3 separate regions of the Homo sapiens genome follow, and all the other regions are linked to region 1. Evidence: promoter capture Hi-C in 16 types of primary human blood cells and fetal thymus (Javierre and others, 2016). All regions are on one chromosome and are shown on one strand. Each heading gives the region's core, a stretch centred on a gene start or on the middle of the fragment in contact. The rest is flanking DNA. Distances are from core to core; before and after follow the strand shown. Region 1 holds the start of PSIP1 (PC4 and SRSF1 interacting protein 1). Region 2 overlaps DENND4C (DENN domain containing 4C). Region 3 overlaps PLIN2 (perilipin 2).

Evidence for each region. Contacts are between HindIII fragments. The CHiCAGO score rates a contact against its expected background, and 5 or more counts as called.
Region 2: a fragment that was not itself captured here is called in contact with the fragment with the promoter of PSIP1 in region 1 in 2 of 17 cell types (total CD8 T cells and total CD4 T cells); the score reaches 7.1 in total CD8 T cells.
Region 3: a fragment that was not itself captured here is called in contact with the fragment with the promoter of PSIP1 in region 1 in 1 of 17 cell types (total CD4 T cells); the score reaches 5.8 in total CD4 T cells.

Annotation. Positions count from the first base shown.
Region 1 is chr9:15,508,239-15,513,015 of GRCh38, forward strand. PSIP1 (PC4 and SRSF1 interacting protein 1) reads right to left here and starts at 2,732. Exons shown (of 16, transcript NM_033222.5): 1 at 2,579-2,732; 2 at 1,879-2,091. The coding sequence starts at 1,950. RefSeq lists enhancers at 1,845-2,798, 2,799-3,751, 4,404-4,777 and silencers at 1,858-2,057, 2,158-2,207, 2,338-2,397, 2,408-2,617, 2,638-2,717. The HindIII fragment of the contact is 3,241 bases long and covers 733-3,973 here.
Region 2 is chr9:19,372,190-19,376,966 of GRCh38, forward strand. DENND4C (DENN domain containing 4C) reads left to right here. Exons shown (of 33, transcript NM_001330640.2): 33 at 1-2,092. It overlaps RPS6 (ribosomal protein S6), which reads right to left. Exons shown (of 6, transcript NM_001010.3): 5 at 4,305-4,462; 6 at 3,526-4,199. The coding sequence ends at 4,104. Among named protein-coding and RNA genes, the nearest start is that of RPS6, 5.7 kb to the right of the region's middle. The HindIII fragment of the contact is 2,196 bases long and covers 1,408-3,603 here.
Region 3 is chr9:19,120,917-19,125,693 of GRCh38, forward strand. PLIN2 (perilipin 2) reads right to left here. Exons shown (of 8, transcript NM_001122.4): 4 at 2,649-2,731; 5 at 1-249. Among named protein-coding and RNA genes, the nearest start is that of PLIN2, 4.2 kb to the right of the region's middle. RefSeq lists an enhancer at 3,075-3,369. The HindIII fragment of the contact is 483 bases long and covers 3,287-3,769 here.

The sequences.
Region 1 (4,777 bases), core at 1,482-3,981:
CTTTAAATATGGACTCTAAACTCTACAGCAAAGATTTCAAATTTTTAAGAATGAAGAAGACAGAAAAAGGAATGTAACTGTTGGACACAGAATACACCAACACTAAATGGAGGTGTTTCTCAGAAAAAATGATGGGGAAAAGGGAAAAGACAAACACTTCCCTTCCAATCCAAATGAACTTGTTAAATGTAGAACTTGTTAAATAAGGAAAACACTCTGGTCTTCCAAAGGCTACCCTATTTTATTTTCAGTAGCACTCTTAGTCACTTAACATATGAGCGTGGGGAGGGTGATTTGGGAGATTTTTTAAACATTTCCTTTGGCTTTTAACTTCACTGTGGCATGCAAATCGGAATATAGATCTATTAGACAACCTCATATTTTCAAACACCTCAAAATAAACAAGGATACCTCGAAGACCATGAAAAAGTATATCAGAGGGGCCTTAAACCTGATCAGTTTCCCTAGGCTCCATTTGAACGTGAATTGTGTTTTATAGGTGCATCATATATACTACGGACTATGGAGGGTATAAACAAATTCCATTTAAGGTTGTTGCCCTCGGTCTCACAATATATTTGGAGGTCAAAGCATACACAGAGTTAAGAATTAAAACAAAAGATTATCACGAAAGGAATAGATTAGAATGTAAAATATACAGACAAGGATTATGACTAAGGATTGTTCAAGTAAGACTGCACCGAAAAGGCAGACTTTATAGGCAAGGAAAAAAGCTTTGGAAGGAAACTTGTGAACAGGAGTTTACGTAGAGCAGCTAGATGGAAGAAAGTCAAGGAACAGTGATCGTTTTACACTTGGATGGCACTCTCAGCTCCTAGACAGGACTCCGTTATCTAATGGGTGTTTTCCACCATTCCCCTGCTGACATAACTAAAACTACAGAATTTAATTATTTTTAAGAAATACATTTTCAAAGGACAGTAAATTAGTCGAAAATAAATGGCTTGGAAAAATAAAACTTCAGAACCCCATGTAAGTATATTTTTAAAGGATCTTGAGTTTACCTAATCTAATTGATTGCAACATATCTTAGGTCCTATCTATCTCTGTTTGAGAGCCTGGGTACCACCATAAACAAAAAGAACCCTTTTTCTAAAAATGGAGCGTAGATCTTTAAACAGTCTCAATTCCTCAATGTCACAAAACATCCTGGGTCCTTAATCATTTCTCTGTACCACTAGATGTGAACTGAGGAATCTGGTCCACACCTCCTTTTTGCCTATTGGAAACAAAAAGGTAAAACAACTTCTTCAAGGTCATAAACATCTCAAATAAAAAAGGAGAAATGAATTTTCTGGCCCTTCCTCGGTACTAAACTACTGTAATACTTTCAAGAATATCCAGTCCTGAATCTGTATTAAACAAGCAAATCCAGAAGGCCTCATCAAGTACAAGGTATTTTTTTTAAAACCCTGTAAATCCAATTTAATCACATACGCACTTCTCTGACATCCAAGTGTTTGTGTGTAATCTGCACAAATTCCATTGATATTTTGTACTTGATCCAAAACTATGGAAATGTCAATGTTTCACTAATTTTTAAACAAAAATTCACTCTTCATTATTTCACCTACAATGGAATATTAACTAGCAACGCATTTAAATATTTCCTAGGAAGAAAATCTGTCCAAGTCTGCCAATAAACCATAGGGAAATACACAGGTATGTAGAAACGTCTGGATTTTCATAATTACACGGGAGATTATTGGGCAAAAAACTAAAATGAAAGGTCAGGTTACAAATGAGACTAAAGCGAGGGAGAGAAAGGACAGAAGAAAAAATAAAGAGACACGGTGGGCAGCAGGCCTCTGGAGAGGAGGGTAGCACTGCTAAGCGCGAGGGCTACAAATCACTTACTCGAGCTGGCCAATGGGGATAACCTTTCATCTTGGCGAAGATGAGGTCTCCAGGTTTGAAATCGCGAGTCATGTTTCGGGGGCGAGACCGGGGGTCCGAAGCCCGGGAGGCGGCGAGGAGATGCGGCGGCGCGGGGATGCGGGCGGCGGACGCGGGCCCAGCTACCGGGCCCGCGGGCGGGGGAGGATGCCTCGGGGCGTCCCGACGCGCCTGCTAGGGAGAGCACCGAGGGCGGTTAAAGCGAAGAACCCCGAAGGGAGGGGCCGCAAGGGGAGGGGGAGGGGAACCGGCGGGTGGGGGTGGGAGAGCGAGGGGACGGCCGCCTCCCGCTCCTCCCCCGCCAGTGCGCTGCCTCCGCGCTGGAGCAGGTCCTCCACCCCGCCACCGAAGAGACGCCACCACCTGAAGCAGGGATGCTGCCCGGCCAGAAATCGCCCGTCTGCCCGCCCCATCTTTCTCCGGGCTTTTTCCACCGAGCTTAAGCCCCAAAAGGGAGGGGGTGCATGGGAGAGAAAAAGGCAGGGATTCCGAGAAGCGAGCGGCCCCCTTCCGCCCACGCAAGGCCTCCCCCGCAACCTGCTGCCCAGCGGCTGCAGCCTCGGCCCCCTCGGCTCCCGGGCGGGCCGCGTCCACTTCCCCGCTACAGCCAGGAGCGACGCCACCGAGGGGGGGGCGGGGCGAGTCCCCGTCGCCCGCTCACCTGCCGGGGCCGCGGGCGCCGACGCTGCGGTTGCTGGCCGGTCGCCTCTACCCGCGTCCACGCAAGCCACCTGCGCCACCAGCTGCCGCAGAGGCGTCTCAACGGCTCGGAATCGCAACCGCGCCGCCGCTGCCGCCGCCGTAGCTGCGCTGCTCCCGCGCGGCTCCCGCTCGGCGCCCGCTAGCACTGGGGCGCGACCAACTGTTTACCGAGAGAGGGGGGATGTTGCAGCACCCGGCGAAGCTGTGTGGCTCCGAAGCGGATTTTCTGGAAACCCTACGTCCCCAAGTTCGCTTTCATGTAACAGGTGCATGCAGATGGAGAGGAAGACGCAAGCGAAGAAGAAAGGACTGGGCGAAAATAGCTCGGCCTGCCGCAAGTTCCCCCTGCGGTTTGCGGAGTGGTCGGGCCCGGCCCGCCCCTGCTGGCTTCTCTGCGTGTGTGTATTTGTATGTGTACTGTATGTAAAAGGCGGGGAGGGAGGAAATGATTGTTGTGGACGCGGTTTTGGGGGCGGGTATCCGGGCCTCTCTCCCTTGGCTGCGTGTTAGGGAGAAAGTGGCAGTAAAGATTCATGTTCTTGTATCGTTTCCAGGGTGGGGAGGTTTGAATGCTGCTTTTGCGCGGTTTGCATCATCCAAAAAAGAGGAGCTGTACGAAAACCCTAAGATGAAATTGGAGCATGCGGCGGTTGCAGGGTGTGCTGCATCTAGGCCTCTTGCACCTCGCTGAATGGGCCTCGTAGTCTCCTTTTCCTTGAAATTGTAGTATGAGAGAGCCCTATTTCATTTCTTTTGCATTTGCATCACCAAGAACTATTAAGAAAAATGCAACCCTACTGAATGCAAAATGCGAAGGGTAGAAAACAATGACAGGAAAACAGAAACCTTTTAGATAGGATGTGAGTTTGGGCCCTAACTAAATTTTAGCTGCATCTAAATTTTATTTCCCTAGTAGAATAGGAGCTGGTAGGTGGTACAATGTGTAAGTGTTACTAAACCTCAAATATTTTCTCTCTTAAAATGCTCTTCAAGGGATTTTAAAGGTTAATTTTTTGATCCTTTAGAGAGGCTGAAAATATTTTTAAAAAGAATGTTAAGACATATAAAAATAAGAATAATAAGACATATATTAGCACCTAGATAATACTGTTTTAAATACGGGACTCAACTGGAAATGAATTAGGAAATTTTTTTTGAATTGGTAAAAATTGAGAATTTTTTGAAAGCGATACAGCATGTCTTTAAAAAGGAATGAAAGAAGACAGTCCCAAAGTAAAATGTCCTGTAAGGAGTTTCGAGAAACTAAGTATACCTGGGCAATATGCAGAGAGTTCCAAGTGGAGCAAAAAGAGAAATTGGCAGAGGAGAAGGAAGGGTTGGTGAAATGTCTTGAAGCTTCTCATTCTGAATATGAATTTAATGTGTGTAGTAGGAAGCTACTATAGGTTGCTCAGCAAGAAGGGGGTAAAAATGATTATTTAACCAGTTCTTGATGTTTCAAGGTAGATGTTAGTAGAAAGAGGCTGGGGGTAACTGGAGTACTCATGAAATGACGCATTTCTCAGTGAGAATGGTGACTAAGAAAAGGGAAGGAAGAGCACAACTAAGTAATTACACAAAGGAATGATTGTCAGGTGTTGGCTATAAATTATGCATAGGAAAAGGTGGAAAAAGATGTATTGAAGAAAAGCTCAAGATACAGAGTAAGAGAGACCAAAGCAGCATCCAGCAATCATTTTTTTGTGTGTATGCACTTTATTTGTTCTAAACCCTGTAAGGCCTTGCTACTTCAAGTGTGGTCCAAGGCCCAGCAGCAAGGGCTTTACCTGGGAGCTCAGGTAAAGCTCAGACCTTCCCCAGGCCTTCTAAATCATAATCTGCGTTTTAACAGGATCCCTAGGTGATTCTTACGCATATTCAAGTTTGAGAAACTGCTTTAGAGGATACCTCAGACTGTAAAAACTTCAAACTAAGAAAAACAGATATATAACAAGTTATAATTAACGTTAAAGATAACTTTTTATTAGTACTAATGGTAGGATTAACAGGTAAAGAGGGGGTAGTTAGTGTTAGAGGGGACCTCAGAAAAGAAATAAAAAAGGGAAAATGGAAAAGCATTGATGTTTTACTATTAGTATTTTCTGTTGTTTTTGTTGTTTTAAAAAAAGGAAGTACCATACTTAGCTCCTGCTGCCTT
Region 2 (4,777 bases), core at 1,256-3,755, 3.9 Mb after region 1:
ATGTTGACACACAAGGCTTGGGGATTAGATTTCATCTGGAAACATTCAAGTTTTTTTTTCCAAATCGTAAGAACTGGTGAATACGGAATTGAAGTAACTCTTGGGGACAATATATAATGAATTATGATTCATATTGCATTACCTTGAAATATGAAGTGCCATTTGAATGTCCCAGGGCTTATTAATATTGAAGATTTTCAACCCCTGAACTGCTTTTCTGCCTCTGTGGAAAACTACTTTGGGATTCTTCAGTATTTGTAGTAGTTTGATAGAAATAATGAGGAACCATATTCATTCTAGGCATTGTTTATATTTGAAGTTACTGAGTTTGAGGAATGGCAAATTAAATTTGCCTAACCCCCAAAACAAATGAAATATCTCAATTATAAAAGCAACATGGCCGGGCACGGTGGCTCAGGCCTGTAATCCCAGCACTTTGGGAGGCTGAGCAAGGTGGGTGGATCACTTGAGGCCAGGAGTTCGAGACCAGCCTGGCCAACACGGTGAGACCCTGTCTTTACTAAAAATACAAAAATTAGCCAGGCGCACCACTGTAGTCCCAGCTACTCAGGCTGAGGCAGGAGAATCGCTTGAACTGAGGCAGAGGCTACAGTGAGTGGAGATCACGCCACTGCAACTCCAGCTTGGGTGACAGAGTGAGACCGTCTCAAAAAAAAAAAAAAAAAAAAAAGAGAGCAACATATTTGTGTAAGTTTGTATATGTGTAGGGCTGTGTAGGTATGTGTATATACAGCCATATTCTAAGTGTATATTTATTAAAATAGATTGCATGTTGCAATACGGTTTTCTGAAAGGGGTCTCATTGACTATTAAATAAATGACTACTACTAAACTTGTCTGTAGTCATTAATCTTAAAATTACCTGAAAATCTGATGACAGCTGCCTTCCCTAACTTTAATGTATTAGGTTGGCACAAAATTAATTGTAGTTTTTGCCACTATTAATGGCAAAAACCGCAATTATTTTTGTACCAACATAATACACCTTTCATATTATGTATTATCTTGCTTAATGGGTTTTATCTTGATTATCCAGTTACTTCCATCCTCTTCCCAATGTTAATTTGCAATAGTTTTAAAATGGGAACAAATGAATCAATCATCAGATAGTTAAAATGAAATTAAATCAGCTGCCTAATAATTTATGGAATTCATTGGAATGTGCTTAAAATGCTAAAGTGTATGTCATTGAACATGAAATCTTTTTTCAGGCACATACATTGTTGGTATTGATGACTTTTTAAAACCTGTGGGATAAACTTGCACTGCACACGGAAGTTTTATTCTTGTATATTTAGATTTGTATGCTTGTGAGTAAAAATGTGCATTTGTAAATACTGTGTTTTTAGGTTGAATCAATTAAGTCTTAAAACTGTAAATTTATTAAGCTTGTTGCCAGTAGGTTTAAGAAAATCATGATCTCACATGCCTCACTTTGACATTTATCATGCCTTTTATTAAAAATATCCCTTAGGAACAGTAAGTTTGCCTTAACTCTCTGCATGGTTTAAAAAGCCATTGGTTTTGTGTGTGTTTACAGTAATTATGCAGATGACTAAATGAGTTGACACAGTAAAATTACTTCCATATGGTACAGTAACAACCTAACTCCCTTCTACCTGATGTAACCATTTACAAATTATAGTTATTGTACCAGTCTTTCAACATTTCAGGGTTAATCTGACCTATGCAGAATTCTAGTGTGAATTTATTGTGAAAATGCTAAATGAAACAATTTGTCAGAAATTATGTACAATTTTCATTACCTTCAAAATGGATCTTTTGCACTGTCTGAGAGTATATATTTTTGCAACTCAAGACTTGGTACTAGTTTTAATACTTAACACTTACTGACCCAACAGAAGTTTGGAATTACCTTGCATATAAAAATTGAGGTTGAATAAAATGAAAAATTGTTGTTTTCTGTTACATTAAGCCTCTTGAAATCTGTAATCTTTAGAATCCCAATATTTTGTTTTTTCCATTCCTTCACTCGTAACTTGAACTCAAGTTTTCACTTACTGACGCGCTTCCCATTAAAAAAAATCTGTAAAGATCTCTACCTTGAAAACTTTAGTCTGCTGCTGCCATTTAGATATTGGGACTGATTTCTTGTTATAAATTTTTAAAGGCTTTTTCCAATACCCACCACAGAGAGGGTACCACTAAAAATTTACAAGACAAAAACATTATTATGGAAAGATTTAGAAGTACCTGGAATGACTTGTAGCACTGTATGCAACTTTAATCCTGATAACTTCTAAAAGCAATCTTTCAAATTAGTCCAGATTACTCAGCAGTACCTTATATTGGTTTGGGGTTCGATAGCGATTTTTTTTTCTTCCAACGAACGAATTGTACAGGTTGATCACAACCTGCATAGTTAACGACATGTCAGAATGACTTGCGTGTGTGTGGAGAACTGGGTATGGTGGCTCACGCCTGTAGTAATCTCAACACTTTGGGATGCCAAGGCAGGCGGATCACTTGAGCCCAGGAGTTCAAGAGTAGCCTGGGTAACATAGCAAAACTCTACAAAAAGCACAAAAACTAGCCGCAGTGCACACCTGTAGTTCCCAGGCGGTCAAGGCTGCAGTGAGCCATACCACTGCTCGCCATCCGGGGCGTAGGAGTGAAACCCTGTGTCAAAGAAAAAAAAAAATCTAAGGAAAAACAGACTGTCCTTATTTTGTGGCTGCACTCAATTTTCAGAAAGCAGGGCGGTTCTCATGTTTTGTGCATCATAAACAAGAACTGGTTAATATAAAACTTTGGACCATAACACTGGACTCACCTTGTGGCTTTTAAGTTCCTCTCTCTGCTTGTGCTAAATTTTTTTTTTTTTTTTTTTTTGAGATGGGAGTCTTGCTCTGTCGCCCAGGCTGGAGTACAACAGTGTAATCTTGGCTCACTGAAACCTCAACCTCCCTGGTTCAAGCGATTCTCCTGCCTCAGCCTCCCGAGTAGCTGGGACTACAGGCATGCGCTAATTTTCGTATTTTTAGTAGGAACGGGGTTTCACCATGTTGGCCAGGCTGGTCTTGAACTCCTGACCTCAGGTGATCCACCTGCCTTGGCCTCCCCACCTGGCCATCCCCTTTGCCTTTTAAGTTCTGCATATTATTATTGATTGCCAACTAAGATTCTTTTCATGTTATGTAGCTTTTTAACACCATGTAGTAAGAGGAATAGTTAAGAATCTTAGTAGGCATCGAGGGACTGGCACTACCGGCCTAACACCTGGGAGCTTTTTAGTAATGTAAAAATGTGGGTCCCCACTCCTCTATCAATCACTATCTGCGCCTTAACCAGACCCCTAGGTGATTCACATGTACATTTAACATTTAGAACTCTGCTTTGTAAAGCTATTATTACAGTAATGCCAACAAAGAGCTTGCATTACTTCAACCTTAAAGCCTAATGTGCCACCTTCTAAAGATCCTGATATTGTCACAATAGGCTAGTCAGCATAGAACTGTTAGAAAAAAGTACATACTTTGTGCATTTTTCACTGATCCAAGAATGTTTTTAGTCATTTCCTTTTCAGTGTGTGAACAGCCTAACAATTCACTGGAGTTGAAAAGCTTTGTTAAAACAAATTTGAAATGGCTTAAAAACCATTTAGTGGATGGTATCCACTAAAACTAGGTATCCACTAAAACTATGCCTTAAAAGTTACCTTTTAAAAAAGACATGTTCATCTTCACAAGGTCAATTTTCATGTATTAAATTGTGTATAGTGCTTTAAAGAGCTATATTCCTCAAAAATAAACTATATAAAAAAGATTAATAGTCCTCATCATTTCCCCTAAGTTCCATGCCATTCTGAAGAGGCAGGTGTCTTATGCTCAGAATCCCTTCCTGTGCCACCCATCCCCTGAAAGGAACCCCTGTACACTGACCTTGTCTTCCACTACCACACACAATAGGTCTGACTTTATCCACCATTGGAATACCATATATACATATCCCCATTTTCTATGACCTAACTTTCCCTCTCTTCATTTATGTAGTTTTCTATCAGCAATGAAAAGTCAACAGAGATCAGAGTCTGATCTTATTTATTTGTTACTCAAAAAATCTTATTTCTGACTGGATTCAGACTTAGAAGTAGAAGCTCGCAGAGAGGAAAGTCTGCGTCTCTTCGCAATTTGTTCCTGGCGCTTCTCCTTAGCCTCCTAAACAAAACAAAACAGCAAACAGTTAAGGCCTTTCTGGGTTAAAGACGCAAATCCAAAGCCAGGTCGAACTCCTCCCACCCCCTCAAATCATCTTAGACTAACCTTCATTCTCTTGGCCAAAAGTTTAGCATATTCTGCAGCCTCTTCTTTATTTTTCTTGGTACGCTGCTTCTTCAGAGCAATACGCCGCCGTTTGTGCTGCAGGACACGTGGAGTAACAAGACGCTGAATCTTGGGTGCTTTGGTCCTAGGTTTCTTACCTAAAAATTCAAAGGACTCAATCATTTCAATATTTGTTTTGTTAGAATCCACATCTACTTTAAAAACATCAGAAATAAACGTAAGCTTAACAGCATCTATGAAAACCTATAATGAGGCCTTTAAAATCAAATCAGAACTATTCTAAAATGCTTTTTGCCCCTCCACAGAAATCTAGAAGATTGGTTAAATATTATAAAAATATAAGGGAAACCAAGTCCTGAAAAATAACCAGGCTAACTTTTACTACCTTCCAGTTTTACTAAAATACAGTGGCATTATGTTAATATATAACTGTGCATAGTTAATTTGTCTGT
Region 3 (4,777 bases), core at 2,278-4,777, 3.6 Mb after region 1:
CAACAGCTCTGATTTGGTGAGTGCATTTTCTACGCCACTGCTCACGAGCTGCATCATCCGACTCCCCAAGACTGTGTTAATGCTGCCACTGACCACAGACTTGGTCTTCTCCACACTGCCAGTCACTGCCCCTTTGGTCTTGTCCATCACCCCTGTGATCGTGCTGGCCACAGAATCCTTGGCCCCAGTCACAGTAGTCGTCACAGCATCTTTTGCCCCAGTCACAGCGCCTTTGGCATTGGCAACAATCTGTAAGTAGAAAAGCAGATCCCCTGGCTGGTGAGAAAAATGAGCACAAGGACATACCTAAGGTCTTAACTAAGGCAGCACAGCTGAAGAGTTAAAGAAGGAATCTAGTCCTCTCACTCTAGCTTTAGGTCTTGGGCAAGTCACTAAGAGTTGATGAGCCTGAATTTCCCTATCAAGTATATCTGCCCTACCTGCCAATCCTTGGGAATTGCAGGAGGAGCAAATGAAGTAAACAGATATGAAATTTGTCTGTTTGCCAAGGCTGCAGTGAGCTGTGATTGTGCCACTGCACTCAGCCTGGGTGACAGAGCAAGACCCTGTCTCAAAAAAAAAAAAAAAAAAAGAGAAGAGAAAAGAAAAAAAAAGAAAAGAAAAGAAGGTAAGTTATATAGCTTATTCCAAAGTCACACAAATCCAGAGAGGAAACTGAAGATCAAACTATACCTGGCCCTCGGGGTGTTATTAGTATGCAGTTATTATACATGGCAGGGCATGGTGGCTCATGCCTGTAATGCCAGCACTTTGCAAAGCTGAGTTGGTTGGATCACCTGAGGTTAGGAGTTCGAGACCAGCCTCACCAACATGGTGAAACCCCGTCTCTACTAAATACAAAAAATTAGTTGGGCGTGGTGGCACATGCCTGTAACCCCAGCTACTTGGGAGACTGAGGCAGAAGAATCACTTGAACCCCAGAGGTGGAGGTTGCAGTGAGCCAAAATTGCACCATTACACTACAGCCTGGGCAACAAGAGCAAAACTCTGTCTCAAAAACAAACAAACAATGACAAAAAAAATTAGCTGGGTGTGGCGGGGCGTGCCTGTGAACCCAGCTACTGGGGAGGCTGAAGCAGGACAATTGCTTGAACCCAGGAGGAAGAGACAGCAGTGAGCCGAGATTGTGCCACTGCACTCCAGCCTGGGTGACAGAGCAAGACTCTGTCTCAAAAAAAAAAAAAAAAAAAAAAAAAAGAACACAAGTTACCAACATTTAAAGAAAATATCCGAAATGGAAAATAACTCTCACCATTAGCACAGTCTCAAGCAATGTAAGTGAAAAATTTAAAAGATTTGCACAAGCATTCTAAAGGCTATACACTAAACCTACCTATAGTTGTGTACCACATAATATTTTGGTCAGCGATGGACCACTATTCAATGATAGTCCCATAAGATTATAATGAACTGCCCTATAACAGGTATACTTTTTTTTTTCACTGTACCTTTTCTAGTTTAGATACACGAATACTTATCATTGTGTTACAGTAGTCAGTGTAGTCATGCTGTGCAGGTTTGTAGCCTAGAAGCAAGCAACAGGCTATATACCATATAGCCTAGGTATATAGCAGGCTATACACCATATAGCCTAGGTATATAGCAGGCTATACACCATATAGCCTAGGTATATAGCAGGCTATACACCATATAGCCTAGGTATATAGCAGGCTATACACCATATAGCCTAGGTATATAGCAGGCTACACCACAAGTCCCTAACCCCCGGGCCATGGACCATTACCAGTCCATTACCAGTCCATTACCAGTCAGAGGCGGCATTAGATTCTCATAGGAGACCTAACCCTAACCCTCTTGTGAACTGTGCACGTGCATGCTCCTTATGAGAATCTAATGATAAATATAGTGCACTTGAATCATCCCAAAAACACCACCCACCCCCTGCTGGTCCATGGAAAAACTGTCTTCCATGGAACCAGTTCCTGGTGCCATAAAGCTTGGGGACCACTGGGCTCTACCATCTAGGTTGGTGTGAGTATACTCTGTGATGTTCACACAATGGCAAAATCACCTAATGTGCATTTCTCAAAATATATTCCCATCACTAAGTGACAGATGACTGTATTTAGATTATGAAAAGACACAGAGCTATATTTTTCCCTAACTGGTATCCTTTTGTGCCATTCTGTATTCTTAATTTGAAACAAAATTTTAGGACATTATCTGAACCAAAGGATCACCAGGACAGACAAGCCTATCATTTTTGTCAACACTGGCTAGCTATCCCATATGGATGGTAGTTCCTGGCAGCATTGTACAAGCCAGGTGAGAAAAGGTTATATATATCACGTCTGCATTTATTTAATACCACAAGACAATCAGTTACTTGAGACAGCAATTTCATTTATAGGAGCAAAGACACAAACTGATAGACAACACACTAAAAGTTTTCTAATCCAAAGGAGGCTAGTTCTTCTCTGCTTCGTAGATACAACTTGACAACAGTTCAGGAAGTAAGGAAGTGGCCATTATTTTTCAAACATACATCCAGATCCAGGTTGGGAAAACAAGTATTTGCCTGTTTGTGATATGTACAGCTTGTTTTAACAGATAGAAGATGAAAACATGTGAAGTGTCAAGTCTCAGCACTTTTGTCCCAAGCTCACCTGAGTTGATGGCTGATTCAGAATAGGCAGTCTCTCCTCAATCCTGTCTAGCCCCTTACAGGCATAGGTATTGGCAACTGCAACTAGAATCACAAATGGGAAAATGTTAATGTAGTACTATAGGTATAGAATGAACACACATTACCATAGGCCTTATAAAAAATGGCAATAATGGGCTGGGCACGGTGGCTCACGCCTGTAATCCCAGCACTTTGGGAGGCTGAGGCAGGCGGATCACGAGGTCAAGAGATCGAGACCATCCTGGCCAACATGGTGAAACCCCGTCTCTACTAAAAATACAAAAATTAGCTGGGCGTGATGGTGTGCGCCTGTAGTCCCAGCTACTCAGGAGGCTGAGGCAGGAGAATCGCTTGAACTCAGGAAGCAGGGGTTCCAGTGAGCCAAGATGCATCATTGCACTCCAGCCTGGGTGACAGAGCAAGACTCCATCTCAAAAAAAAAAAAAAAGGCAAGAATGTTGATCTTATACAACAGAAGGCATTGCCTGGTTTATCTAGTTCTGACAGGAAGAGGCCTGGCAAGTTGCTGGCAACTCTCTTCTAAAGGTAAGGAAATATGGGGGTGTGAGGGAGGAGCAGGCAGAGGCAGTGACAGGCCAAACAGGAAGCTGGCTCTGAAGCTTCTTCCTTATCAACTGGCCCCTAATGTTAATGCCAAGAGTAGCCGGGCTTTCCCTGAACTGTCATTCAGAGAATAAGGTATCTGGAAACTCTCTCAAAATCGGCATTCCCATGCTAGTTTAATCCCTACCTACGCTTACTTCAGCACAGGTCAGTGTATTTGGGGTCCTCAGGAGGAAAGAGTATGCCAAGACCACCCTGGATCTCCCTAACAAGGGAGATTTTAGTGTGAGCTTCCCACTAAGAATACCAAACCAAGTACTAGTACCAAATTCATTTAGGAAGTAGCAGAGTTGGAATGGCTGGTCTCTAAAGGCTCCTTATAATCCTAAAAGTCCCTGGCTTAACCATTTGAAAGAATGATTTAAATCTTTATTCAAAAGCAGTTCATGTTGTGGAGAAATTGGAGCCTCCATACAGTGTTGGTGGGAATGTAAAATGGTACAGCTGATTTGGAAAACAGTCTGGCAGCTCCTCAAAAGCTTAAACAGTTATTATATAACCCAGCAATTCCACTCCTGGGTATATACCAAAAAAACCTGAAAACATGTCCACACAAAAACTTGTATACAAATGTTCACAGAAGCATTATACATAATCTCCAAAAGTAGAACGAACCCAAACATCCATCAGTTGAAGAATGAATAAATATTGTCTGTCTAGACAGTAAATTACTATTCAACAATAAAAAGAGATGAAGTACTGATATGATGTGACAAGACAGATTAACTTTGAAAACATTATGCTTAACGAAAGAAGCCAATCACAAAAAAACCCACACATTTTATGATTTCATTTATAAGAAATATCCAGCATAGGCAAATCTATAAAGACAAAGTAGATGAGTAGCTGCCTCAGGGTGGTTGTTAGGAAATGGGGAGTGACTACTAAGTATGAGAGTATGAGATTTCTCATGGAGTATGACATTTCTATTCTTTATTTCGGTAAAATATACATAACAAATTTCACCATTTCAACCATTTTTAACTGTGCAATTCAGTGGCATTAAGTCCATTTACAACATTATACAACCATCACCACTATCCATTTCTAAAACTCATTCATGGCCAGGCATGGTGGCTCACACCTGTAGTCCTAGCACTTTGGGAGGCCGAGGCGGGCGGATCACCTGGGGTCAGGAGTTCCTGACCAGCCTGGCCAACATGGCAAAACCCTGTCTCTACTAAAAATACAAAATTAGCTGGGCATGGTGGTGTATGCCTGTAATCCCAACTACTCAGGGAGCTGAGGCAGGACAATCACCTGAGCCCGAGAGGCAGAGACTGCAGTGAGCAGTCTCAAATTCCAGGCCTCAAGCGATCCTCCCATCTAGACCTCCCAAAGTGCTAGGATTACAGGTGCAGGCCACCGTGCCCATCCTCTGGGGGATTTTTAATTAAAGGATCATAAACATCTGCCAAAGCTATGAAACAGGCCTTCTGTGGACAGGCGCGGTGGCTCACGCCTGTAATCCCAGCACTTTGGGAG